Regions from separate parts of the Homo sapiens genome. Here all the other regions are linked to region 2. The links are contacts of gene promoters, found by promoter capture Hi-C in blood cells and fetal thymus (Javierre and others, 2016). All regions are on one chromosome and are shown on one strand. The core of a region is centred on a gene start or on the middle of the fragment in contact, and the rest is flanking DNA. Distances in the headings are between cores, read along the strand shown.

What was found. Contacts are between HindIII fragments. The CHiCAGO score rates a contact against its expected background, and 5 or more counts as called.
Region 1: a contact is called between a fragment that was not itself captured here and the fragment with the promoter of TMA16 in region 2, in 1 of 17 cell types (M2 macrophages). The highest score is 5.2, in M2 macrophages.
Region 3: a contact is called between a fragment that was not itself captured here and the fragment with the promoter of TMA16 in region 2, in 1 of 17 cell types (endothelial precursors). The highest score is 6.2, in endothelial precursors.
Region 4: a fragment that was not itself captured here is called in contact with the fragment with the promoter of TMA16 in region 2 in 8 of 17 cell types (naive B cells, naive CD8 T cells, total B cells and 5 more); the score reaches 14.9 in naive B cells.

What each region holds. Positions count from the first base shown.
Region 1 is chr4:162,492,716-162,495,415 of GRCh38, reverse strand. No RefSeq gene overlaps it. Among named protein-coding and RNA genes, the nearest start is that of FSTL5, 330 kb to the right of the region's middle. The HindIII fragment of the contact is 9,946 bases long and covers 1-2,700 here.
Region 2 is chr4:163,493,278-163,495,977 of GRCh38, reverse strand. It overlaps TMA16 (translation machinery associated 16 homolog), which reads right to left and starts at 1,288. Exons shown (of 7, transcript NM_018352.3): 1 at 1,174-1,288. The coding sequence starts at 1,176. LOC124900805 (a long non-coding RNA gene) reads left to right here and starts at 754. Exons shown (of 2, transcript XR_007058354.1): 1 at 754-816; 2 at 1,082-2,700. RefSeq lists enhancers at 712-861, 892-1,031, 495-1,397 and a cis regulatory region at 2,679-2,700. The HindIII fragment of the contact is 17,381 bases long and covers 1-2,700 here.
Region 3 is chr4:164,764,226-164,766,925 of GRCh38, reverse strand. The region is part of intron 1 of SMIM31 (small integral membrane protein 31); the gene reads right to left. Among named protein-coding and RNA genes, the nearest start is that of SMIM31, 11 kb to the right of the region's middle. The HindIII fragment of the contact is 3,677 bases long and covers 1-2,700 here.
Region 4 is chr4:164,726,294-164,728,993 of GRCh38, reverse strand. It overlaps the pseudogene CHORDC1P3. Among named protein-coding and RNA genes, the nearest start is that of SMIM31, 26 kb to the left of the region's middle. RefSeq lists an enhancer at 1,190-1,359. The HindIII fragment of the contact is 5,791 bases long and covers 1-2,700 here.

The sequences.
Region 1 (2,700 bases), core at 24-2,523, 1.0 Mb after region 2:
AGCACATTAACATATCCATCTCCTCACACAGTTAACGTGTATGTGTGTGTGTGTGTGTGTGTGTGTGTGTGTGCGCGCGTGTGTGTGTGTGGTGGGAGCAACTAAAATCTACTCCTTAGCAAATTTCAATATGCAATACAGTATTATTAATTGCAGTCATCACACTGCACCTTACATATCTAGACTTATTTGTCCTACATAACTGCAACCTTGTACCCTTGACAAACACTGCCCCATTTCCCTTTCCTCCCGTCCCCTGCTAACCACCTTTTTACTTTGCTTCCGTGAGTCCAACTTTTATGGAGTCCACATGCAAATGAGATCAGGAAGTAGTTTTCCTTCCATTTCTGGCTTATTTCATCTAGCACAATGTCTTCCTGGATCATCCAGGTTGTCATAAATGGCAGGATCTCCTTCTTTGTAAAGGCTAAATAATATTCTATTATATGTATATATACACATATACAATACACACATATTTTATATATAATATATATGCTATATAGTATGTAATATAGAATGACAATATATGTAATATACAATATATGTATATTATATATGTATTATTTCTTTATACATTTATATATATGTATTAGTCTGTTCTCATGCTGCTAATATATACATACACAAGACTGGGTCATTTATAAAGGAAAGAGGTTTAATTGACTCACAGTTCCACATGGCTGGGGAGGCCTCACAATGATGGCTGAAGGTGAATGAGGAGCATCTTTTTTTTTTTTTTTTTTGAGATGGAGTCTCGCTCTGTCACCAGCGCTGGGGTGCAGTGGTGCGATCTCTGCTCACTGCAAGCTCTGCCTCCCAGGTTCATGCCATTCTCCTGCCTCAGCCTCCCAAGTAGCTGGGACTAAAGGTGCCTGCCACCACGTCCGGATAATTTTTTTTTTTTTTGGATTTTTAGGAGAGCTGGGGTTGCACCATGTTAGCCAGGATGCTATCAATCTCCTGGCCTCGTGATCTGCCCACCTCGGCCTCCCAAAGTGCTGGGATTACAGATGTGAGCCACCGTGCCCGGCCAAGCATCTTACATGGAAACAGACAAGAGGGTATGTGCAAGGCAACTGTCCCTTACAACACCACCATATCTCATGAGACTTATTCACTACCATAAGAACAGCACTGAAAGACCCACCCCCATGATTCAATTACCTCCTACCAGGTCCCTCTCACGATATGTAGGTATTATGGGAGCTACAATTCAACATGAGATTTGGGTGAGAACACAACCAAATCATATCATTCAACTGCGGCCCCTCCCAAATTTTATGTCCTCACATTTCAGAAACACAATAATGCCTTCCCAACAGTCCCCCAAAGTCTTAATTCATTCCAAATTTACTCAGAAGTCCAAGTCCAAAGTTTCATCTGAGACAAAGCAAGTTTCTTCCACCTATGAGCCTGTAAAAAACAAAACAAAACAAAACAAAAAACCAGTAACTTACTTCCCAGATACAGTGGGAGTACAGACATTGGGTAAATACAGCCATTCCGTATGGGAGAAATTGGCCAAAACAAAGGGGCTACAGGGCCCATGCAACTTCAAAATCCATTAAGGCAGTCATTAAACCTTAAAGTTCCAACGTGATTTCCTTTGACTCCATTTCTCACATCCAGGTCACGCTGATGGAAGAGATAGACTCCCATGGCCTTGAGAAGCTCCACCCCTGTGGCTTTGCAGGGTATCACTCCCCTCCTGGCTGCTTTCATGGGCTAGTGTTGAGTGTCTGTGGCTTTTCCAGGCAGATGGTTCAAGCTGTCAATGGATCTACCATTCTGGAGTCTAGAGGTTGGTGACCTCCTCTCACAGCTCTGCTAGGCAGTGCCCCAGTTGGGAATCTGTTTGGGGGCTTCCATCCACATTTCCCTTCTATACTGCCCTAGCAGAGGTTCTCCATGAAAGCCCCACCCCTGCAGCAAACGTCTGCCTGGACATCCAAGTGTTTCCATATATACTCTGAAATCTGGGTGGAGGTTCCCAAACCTCCATTCTTGACTTCTGTGCACCCAAAGGCCCAACACCACACATAACCCACCAAGGCTTGGGGCTTGCACCCTCTGAGTCAATAGCCTGAGCTGTATGTTGGCCCCTTTTATTCATGGCTGGGAGCTGAAGCAGGCTGGGATGCAGGGCACCGTGTTTGGAGGCTGCATAAAGCAGGGGGGCCCTGGGCTGAGCCCATGAAACCATTTCTCCCTCTTAGGCCTTCAGGCCTGTGATGAAAGGGGCTGCCACAAAGGTCTCTGACACAACCTGGAGATGTTTTCCCTGTTACCTTGGTGATTAGCATTTGACTGCTCGTTACTTATGCAAATTTTGGCAACATGCTTGAATTTCTTCCTAAAAAATGTTTTTTTTTCTTTTTTACTGCATTGTCAGGCTGCAAATTTTCCAAACTTTTATGATCTATCACCTCTCAAATGCTTTGCCACTTAGAAATTTATTCCACCAGGTACCCCAAATCATCTCTCTCAAGTTCAAAGTTCCACAGATCTCTAGGCCAGGAGCAAAATTCTGCCAGCATCTTTACATAGCAAGAGTGACCTTTACTTTAGTTCCCAACAAGTTCCTCAACCCCATCTGAGACCACCTCAGGTTGAATTTTATTGTCCATATCACTATCAGCATTTTGGTCAAAGACATTCAACAAGTCTCTAGGAAGCTCCAAACATTCCCACATCTGT
Region 2 (2,700 bases), core at 39-2,538:
CTCAAACACAATGAGATGTAATTGCTTTCATATTCCACTCTGAAAAGGGGAAAAAAACTAACACTATAAAGAGTTGGAAATCCCACAAGCAAAGTGACAAGCAAACACTGAATTTACACAAATGTGTACAATCTAAAGTACAAAATATGCGTCAGCAGTGGATCAAAATAAAGCACAAAAAACTCGCGAAACAACGAAAGAACCAGACTGTAAGACAAAAATGGCATACAATGAAAAGAGAAAAAAATGAAAAGAAACAAAGAGGCCACATTGTGGACACAATATCGTAACTTCTGACCAGATTATAAACTTTTAAAATTTTGCTTTTATTAAAAATTAATTGAAAAAAATTTATAAAGCATGTTTCTATGCAAGAATTACTCTCAAGAACACAACGATTACGTAAAAAATAGGCAAGAAACAACATACTGTTTCAAAATACAAATATATGTAGTAACTATAAAGAAAAGTAGTGAAATTATAAATACAAAACTTAGATAATGTTTGCTTCTTAAGGTTTCCTGAAAGTTCAAAGAAGGTAACACAGGGCTTTCAAAGGCTATGTTTTATTTCTTAAAACTACAAAATGGGTAAACGAGAATTCCTGAAACTGTTCATCTTTACACTTGAAATGTGCTTTAGTAACACTCTTTTGTATCTACTCAGTTTTTAATAAAAACAACAAAACTGCTTCAGTGCCCTGGAGCGAATGGGGGCGTAACGGCAGGATTCAGGGCACTAACGAGAGGTGAACGGACGCCGAGGAAGAGGCGACTAAGCCCACATACTGAGTCTACCCAGGCCAGAGAGGCAGAGGTGTGTAGGGCCAGCGATCTCAGAAGTTTTGCCAAACTCCTCGATGCGTTACAATGGAAAGGTGCCGGGTTTCCCCCAGGAAGTAGTGACTAGCGAGAAGTTAGGCACAAGGCAAAGAGGAGCAAGGCGACGTGTGAGCACTTCAGCACTCGGACGCGGAACTCTAAGGTCCAGGCGTTGGGCCTGGGACTCGCCTCCCAGAGGCTTCGCCCCGCACCCCGCACACTCCCTGAAAATAAACACTTTGCATCCTCCCCTCTCCTAGGTTCCCGAAACCGCACCCTCCCTCTCTGCCTGCTCAACAAGAGCCTTCCGGGGAACCAACCGAGCGGTTCGGGGGAGCAGGAGGGGGCCCACCATGGTGACGTCCTCGTGGCCACGGAGCAGCTCCGCACTCTAGACCCAGGTAATCTCACCAACCGCAGGAGCAGCAGCTCACAAGAGCACCCGGGCCGAATCCCACGTGGCGCCTGAGAAGCCCGCGCCGACCCAACCGGAACAGGAGAGGCGAGTGCGTTTCTCTAAAGCGTCCCCGTTAACTGAGACCGCGTCTTTTTCGCCCGTGTTGGGCTTTTAAGCTCTAGCCCAACGGACAGCCAGACCTGCGTGCTCGCCGGGAGCGGCGGAAGGGAGCTTGCGGCGGGAGGCTGAACTCTGCCTGGTGCTGAGTGCGAGGCTGGGGATTGGAGCCCGGGTGGAGACGCTACACGCTTCCGGCCCCAAGAGCGGAGCTTGCCCATCTGTCCCAGAGCACGACTCCAGAGCGCAGCAACCTCTTCAGACAAGAGGTTCCCTCTTGCGGGCTCCCGCATCTCAGGGGCTGGGACCCTCTCAAAAGGGCCGCTCGGTGTTGGCTCCCCGGAGCTCTTGCACGGCACAGGCTCCTGCCCTCCGCTTTTCCACGTACTAGATTACCTTGGGCAAGTCCTTTCCTGCACTGAGTCTTTTTTTGCCCTGCCCTGCCCTGCCCTGCCCTGCCCCGCCCCGCCCCTCTTCTCTTTCCTTTCTTTTCTTTTCTTCTTTCCCTCTTTCCCGCCTTCCCTCATTCCCTCTTTCTTTCTTCCTCCCGGGTTCAAGCGATTCTCCTGCCTCAGCCTCCCGAACAGCTGGAATTACAGGCCTCCGCCACCACGCCCGGCTAATTTTTTTTTTTTTTTTTTTTTTTTGTATTTTTAGTAGAGACGGGGTTTCGCCGTGTTGGCCAGGCTGGTCTCGAACTCCTGATCTCAGGTGATCCGTCCGCCTCGGCCTCCCAAAGTGCTGAGATTACAGGCCTGAGCCACCACGCCCGGCCGAGTCTTAGTTTCTTTATCCGGAAAGGCCACTTCCTCATATTCAAGGCCTCTGCCAACCCAGTTTTTGTTTTCTTCTCACAGCATGTGAGAGTCTTTGTTTCACCCATACATGTTAGAATTCCGTAGACAATGTAATCATTCAAAAACTATTTATTGAATGCCTACTGTGTGCCTGGTACTGGGGATACTCCAACAATATCCCTCACTCAGCTCATTTTCCAGGGGATGGAGGCATGTAAAAATATTATTTCAAATAATATAAGTACTCTAATAAAAATTAGCTGGCGGGGGCATGTAGAAAAGCTGTTTTACACATGGTGGTCTCTATAAAGTCCTCTTTTAGAAGTGATAATTGAGCAGAGACCGGAATTGTAAGAGAAAACTAGGCATGGGAAGAAGCTCCAGGCAGGGTGAAGCTGGTGTGCCTTGATATGTGTGTGCAGCTGTTAACAGTTGAGGGTAGTTGGCTAGGTCCTTGGCGTTTTGAACAAATAATTGGACAAAACACACAAATAAAGCAAGGCAGCGAAAGCAGAGATTTATTTTAAATGAAAGTACACTACTCCACTGCGTGGAAGCAGGCTGTGGC
Region 3 (2,700 bases), core at 171-2,670, 1.3 Mb before region 2:
CTTCTCTTCAGTTCAAGCACCACCTCCCCACAGAGGCATTTCTTGACTTCTAATCTAAGCCAAGTTCTCAGCAGTTTTATTTTCATCACAGCTATTCTCCATTGCATTTTTCTTCTTTTTTTTTTTTTTGAGATGGAGTCTCACTCTGTCACCAGGCTGGAGTGCAGTGGCACGATCTCAGCTCACTACAACCTCCGCTTCCCGGGTTCAAGCGATTCTCCTGCCTCAGTCCCCCGAGTAGCTGGGACTACAGGTGTGTGCCACCACGCCTGGCTAATTTTTTGTATTTTTAGTAGAGATGGGGTTTCACCATGTTGGCCAGGATGATCTCAATTTCCTGACCTCGTGATCCGCCTGCCTCAGCCTCCCAAAGTGCTGGGATTACAGACGTGAGCCACCGTGCCTGGCTACATTTTTTTGTTATTGTTTGTCTGTCTTTCCCCATTAAAGTTCTATGAAAGCAGTCTGCTTTGTTTATCTCCGTACCTATAGGGCTTAGAAAAATGACGGGCATATAGTACATTTTCCCATAAGTATTCACTGAGTGACCATAAACGAGTGGATGCAAGCAGCACCGAAGAAGGCAAGTTGATGCAAAACTCTGAATTTCACAGCTGTGAATGGAAACTCTGGATTGAAGATGTATTTGGAAATCTCAGCGGCATCAAGCACTCTATTACTTGAGAAAATCCCACCCAGAGGACAAGAAGTATATTTTGAAAATGGCTTTAAGGTTTCCATAAAACAGGCAGCATGGTTGGGATTGATGGTTTTTCTTGCTGCTGTTATTGCCCTCACGGGGGAGATGTGTTTCTTTTCCTTTGTTACTTTATTTTTCTGTCTCATGGCTGCTGACAGAGCTCACTGCTCTCTTTGTGCACCATCCGTTCATTCTCTCGCGGCTCCCTTGAGTGCTGTTATGATTGCTCGGGGACAGCATGGAACATGCTCTTCTTATTGAGTCTCCTTCCTATTGTAGATGCTGTGTGCATGCATCAAGGGCCAAGGGGACTAGGTAAAATGACTGCCTTCATCTAAAGAAAAATCTGCCAGAGTAAAAATAAAGGGCTTATTTACAGGAAGTAAATGCACTTTTCTGGGCAGTGGGAATTTAGTGTTTTGAATTCTTATAGCCTGCTACATTAGAAAACTATGGGCTGAAAAAAATCTGTGAGATACTGCAGTGCCCACTCCCCCCTTGCCTTCAAAGGCCTTGTGGAAAAAGTCTAAAGGCTACTAACCAACGTGCATGCCACTTCTGTTGCTTCCTGGATTTATCTGCCTTTTTTTTTTTTTTTTTTCTGAGACAAAGTATCCCTTCCTTCTTTAAAAATTCTGAACAAGACTCACCTGCTGCATTGAATGCTTATCTAATTTAAATAATCTGAAACCAGTGGCACTTTTTTCCGTTTTATCTGTAGGAGGGTGGTTCTGTCATGGTGTAAATCCTGTCTACTAAACAAAGCCTTGAATTATCCCGTCCATCTGTGAAATGCCAACAACGCTCATTAGTCTCTGCATATGGTTTCTGAATTATGTATTCACCTTGAAGGCTCATACAGGCAGAAAACTGTTTTTCTTATTTACTCCCTGACACCAAGTACTTGGCAAATCACGCTTGCTGAATGACAAATGATGTGTCCCAGCTCCTGTCAATGCTGTTCCTACTTGACATTTCAACCTGCTACATGTCTCTTTGATTTTCTCAATCTTTCTTTTTGGATGGATCCTCTATCATGTTGCCTTCCTCTGTTTCTTTGGGCAACTCCATGTCTCAAGTCTTCTTCTGGTCAAACTCTGAACAAAAAGCCATCTTGTCCTTGAGAACTTTCCTCCAAATAAAATTTCAGGTTTGGAAAGAAAATCAAAAATCACCTTGTCCAGACACCATACAATGATTGAATTTTCCCTAAACTGTTTTGGTGAAATAGATGGCCAGCCTGAATTCCTCTAGTGATGAGGAACTCACTGTCATTGGAGGCAATCTGTTTAATCTCTGGATAACCCTGCTCTTTAGAAAACTCTATATCAGCTAAAATTCTGTTCTTTTTAACTATTACCATGTGATTCCTAAATACAGAACTAAAAAGTTCTCCTTTTATGAGAGGGATCCTCAAATATTTGAAGACCAGGAATTTGTCATGTTGCCTGGGCTTTCTTTCCTTTGTCTAGACAAATATTCTTCTTATGACATAATTCTGTGTCCTTTGTCCCTTTTGATTTCTCTCCTTTACTTCCAAATCCCTCTAAAGTGGAGTAACCAAGCTGAAGGCAATATTTTGAATTAGGTTGACTGGATTCCAGTAAGGCAACAACAGCACCCACCACATTTTTTTCTATTTTTTTCTTTTTTTTTTTTTGAGATGGAGTCTCGCTCTGTCGCCAGGCTGTAGTGCAGTGGCGCGATCTTGGCTCACTGCAACCTCCGCCTCCCAGGTTCGAGCAATTCTCCTGCCTCAGCCTCCCGAGTAGCTGGGACTACAGGCACACGCCACCACGCTCAGCTAATTTTTGTATTTTTAGTAGAGACAGGATTTCACCATGTTGGCCAGGATGGTCTTGATCTCTTGACCTCATGATCTGCCCGCCTCGGCCTCCCAAAGTGCTGAGGTTACAGGTGTGAGCTACTGTGCCCTGCCACACCCACCACATTTTAACTCAATGGTCTGCCAATGGTCTGGTTGCCGGTCAGGCCTCATT
Region 4 (2,700 bases), core at 17-2,516, 1.2 Mb before region 2:
ATAGGATTTCAACAGATGATAAAGAAGACAAAGAGAATGTAGTCGGATGGGATATTCAGAGCAAAAGTTGAAAGATGTGAAGGTACATTCTGCATTCAGGAGATAGTGTCCCCTGGAGAGGCTCCCACAAGGCATAGTGAGGGCAGTGGGAGGAGTGAGGCAATGGGGGAATCTAGGCTCTAGGCTCGGGAGGGCTGAGATCATGTTACTCAGAGGCTTTAGAAGGAGGCCTTAACAAGGAGCGAGAACAGTAGGCACAAGTTTGGGGTTCCTGAGTAGAAAACGTCAAGCGGTTCAAAGCAGCTTTTTCATGTCTGTAAGACCAAAGCCTCCAACACCTTGCCTGGAACTGTGGTTCTTAGATGTGCAGTTTTTCTTTCTGAGCTACAGCACTGCGCCAAGTGTGAATCCAGGTAGAAAAACAGAAATACCACTCTGCTGTCTTGAATTACAGGACAATTTTCACACATGCTCTATGGGGAGTATCCCATTGGTCAGACTGGCTGAAGGACTAAGCAGAGAAAGAAGGGAAAAAAAGTTAATTTGTTGTTAGAGGATTCTAGAAGCATAGGCTTTGGCAGGTTTTAAAAGGAAAATTTACAGCTTTAATAAAACTGATAAAGCCATCCTAACTTTTATGTGGTGAATATGATTTGATATTCACTGAAGATAAATTAGACATGGTGAGTTTCCCCAGGGCTCCTGCTGGAGACTAAAATGGTATTGTCTGAAATGAACTCAAAGAATCATCTTTGGAGTTAGATGCGGGCAAATTTGAAGAGATAAGGACCAGGCTAAGAGTTCAAGCATGACGTGAACAAATATGAAATAGAATTTAAGTCAAACGGTGTTCAGTGTTTTTTAGGTATCATTGTGCATACAAAAATCCAGAGGAAAGCAGGAGCAGGCTCAGAGGGGCCTTAGCTGGCTTACTTCCAGAATCACAGGCTCCATTGAGTCCCATGATGTCTGACCCCTATTCTTATTGGGCCATACGTTCGTTTAGTTAAAACAGGATATAGAACCATGTGCAATTGCATCTTATTTATCTCTCCAGATCCAGCAAGAAGATAATTTGCACATAATGACAGATTGGCTCAGGTATCTAGCCCCAAATAGAGGGTCTGGTTGTGATCCATCATCATGACATTTCAGCTTTAACAAATATGGCTGCTCACAGAGGACACAATACATGAGTGAAAGTGGAGGGACAGAATTTTTTGGAGCCATCCATCAATAAGAAAAAGGATGGAGGGTTTTTATGGAATACGACCTTCATCAGTTAGCAGTGGCATGAGTTTTACCTCAAACCCTATTAAAATCCTTTTTTAAAAAACAATTAAGCTATTTTATTGAATATATCATAGTTGTCATAAAGTTCATACATTTCACTTTTTGATACCCTAATGTATTTCCATGAACCTTTAAGTCTACAATTTTATAGATATAGTTTTCCATCCAATAAGCCAGAGGTAGATAATTTTTTTTACATGTAACTAATTAAAGGCTTTACAAGAGGTTAGGCTGTAAAAAGTTACAGTTTTGCCATAACACCACCGAAAGACACTTAATTAGGAAAGAGTTTTTTTCTACATTATTTCTTAGTCTTATAAAATGGTAAATTTTAACCAAATTGATACCTTTGTACTCTTATTTGTTTCCTATACTCTTAAATCATACTGCTTGGCAAGCGATATAAGTATTGATATAATTTTTAAATTCAATTAGTTGTAAACAAACTCTGATTTGTTAATAAGTGCATGTATTTCCCTTTAACCACCTACTATACTACCTCAGAATTAATCCTCCTATAAAAACCCTCCCACATAGAAAAAATAATGCAGAGCTTCATCTCTTCCTCAGAGATTTTCATATATTATAGGAATACAAATCCATAAAAAAGGATTAAAAATTGACATTTCATCTTGCCTTACTAATTATGAGATAATAGAGATGTGACAAAAACAAATGTTCCTTAATGTTTTTCTGCCTAACATAATATTATACTAAGAAATACTGCAATTATGTTGGTGAGCTATTTTCCAGCTTCTCCAAGTATAGGACACAACTATGGTTCTATCAGCGAGGAGAAATGAATAATCTATCTTACATAACTCAAAAGAACGATGGGAGGCACAAAAAGGTGAACTGACTTTGGCTTTTAAGAACCTGATGTTGATCCTGAAATGCCAGATTCAACAACACAACAAAACAAAAGATTACAGCAGCAAGATACCACTTTGCCACACATTATTAAGAATTCTGAAATAAGCAATAGCTCAGTCACTCAATCTGTTGTATCTTCTGTTTGTTTTTCTTGCCTTTTGGTTGCAGGCAATTCAAGGTGTGCCTATTGCATAGGACCAGCTATTCTTACTGTGCTCTCTGTCTGCATTGCAGTCATAGCTACCTAACTTCACTTTTCAACAATCACAATCCATAATTTTGCATTTTGATGAAATTTCTTCTCTTCTTCAAATACAATGCGTTGGTTTTGTTGTTGATGTTGTTGTTGAGACAGAGTCTTGCTCTGTTGCCCAGGCTGGAGTACAGTGGTGCAACCTCGGTTACTGCAACCTCTGCTTCCCAGGTTCAAGTGATTCTCATGCCTCAGACTCCCAATCAGCTGGGATTACAGGCATGTACCACTACACCTGGCTAACTTTTGTATTTTAGTAGAGACGGGTTTCGTCATGTCGG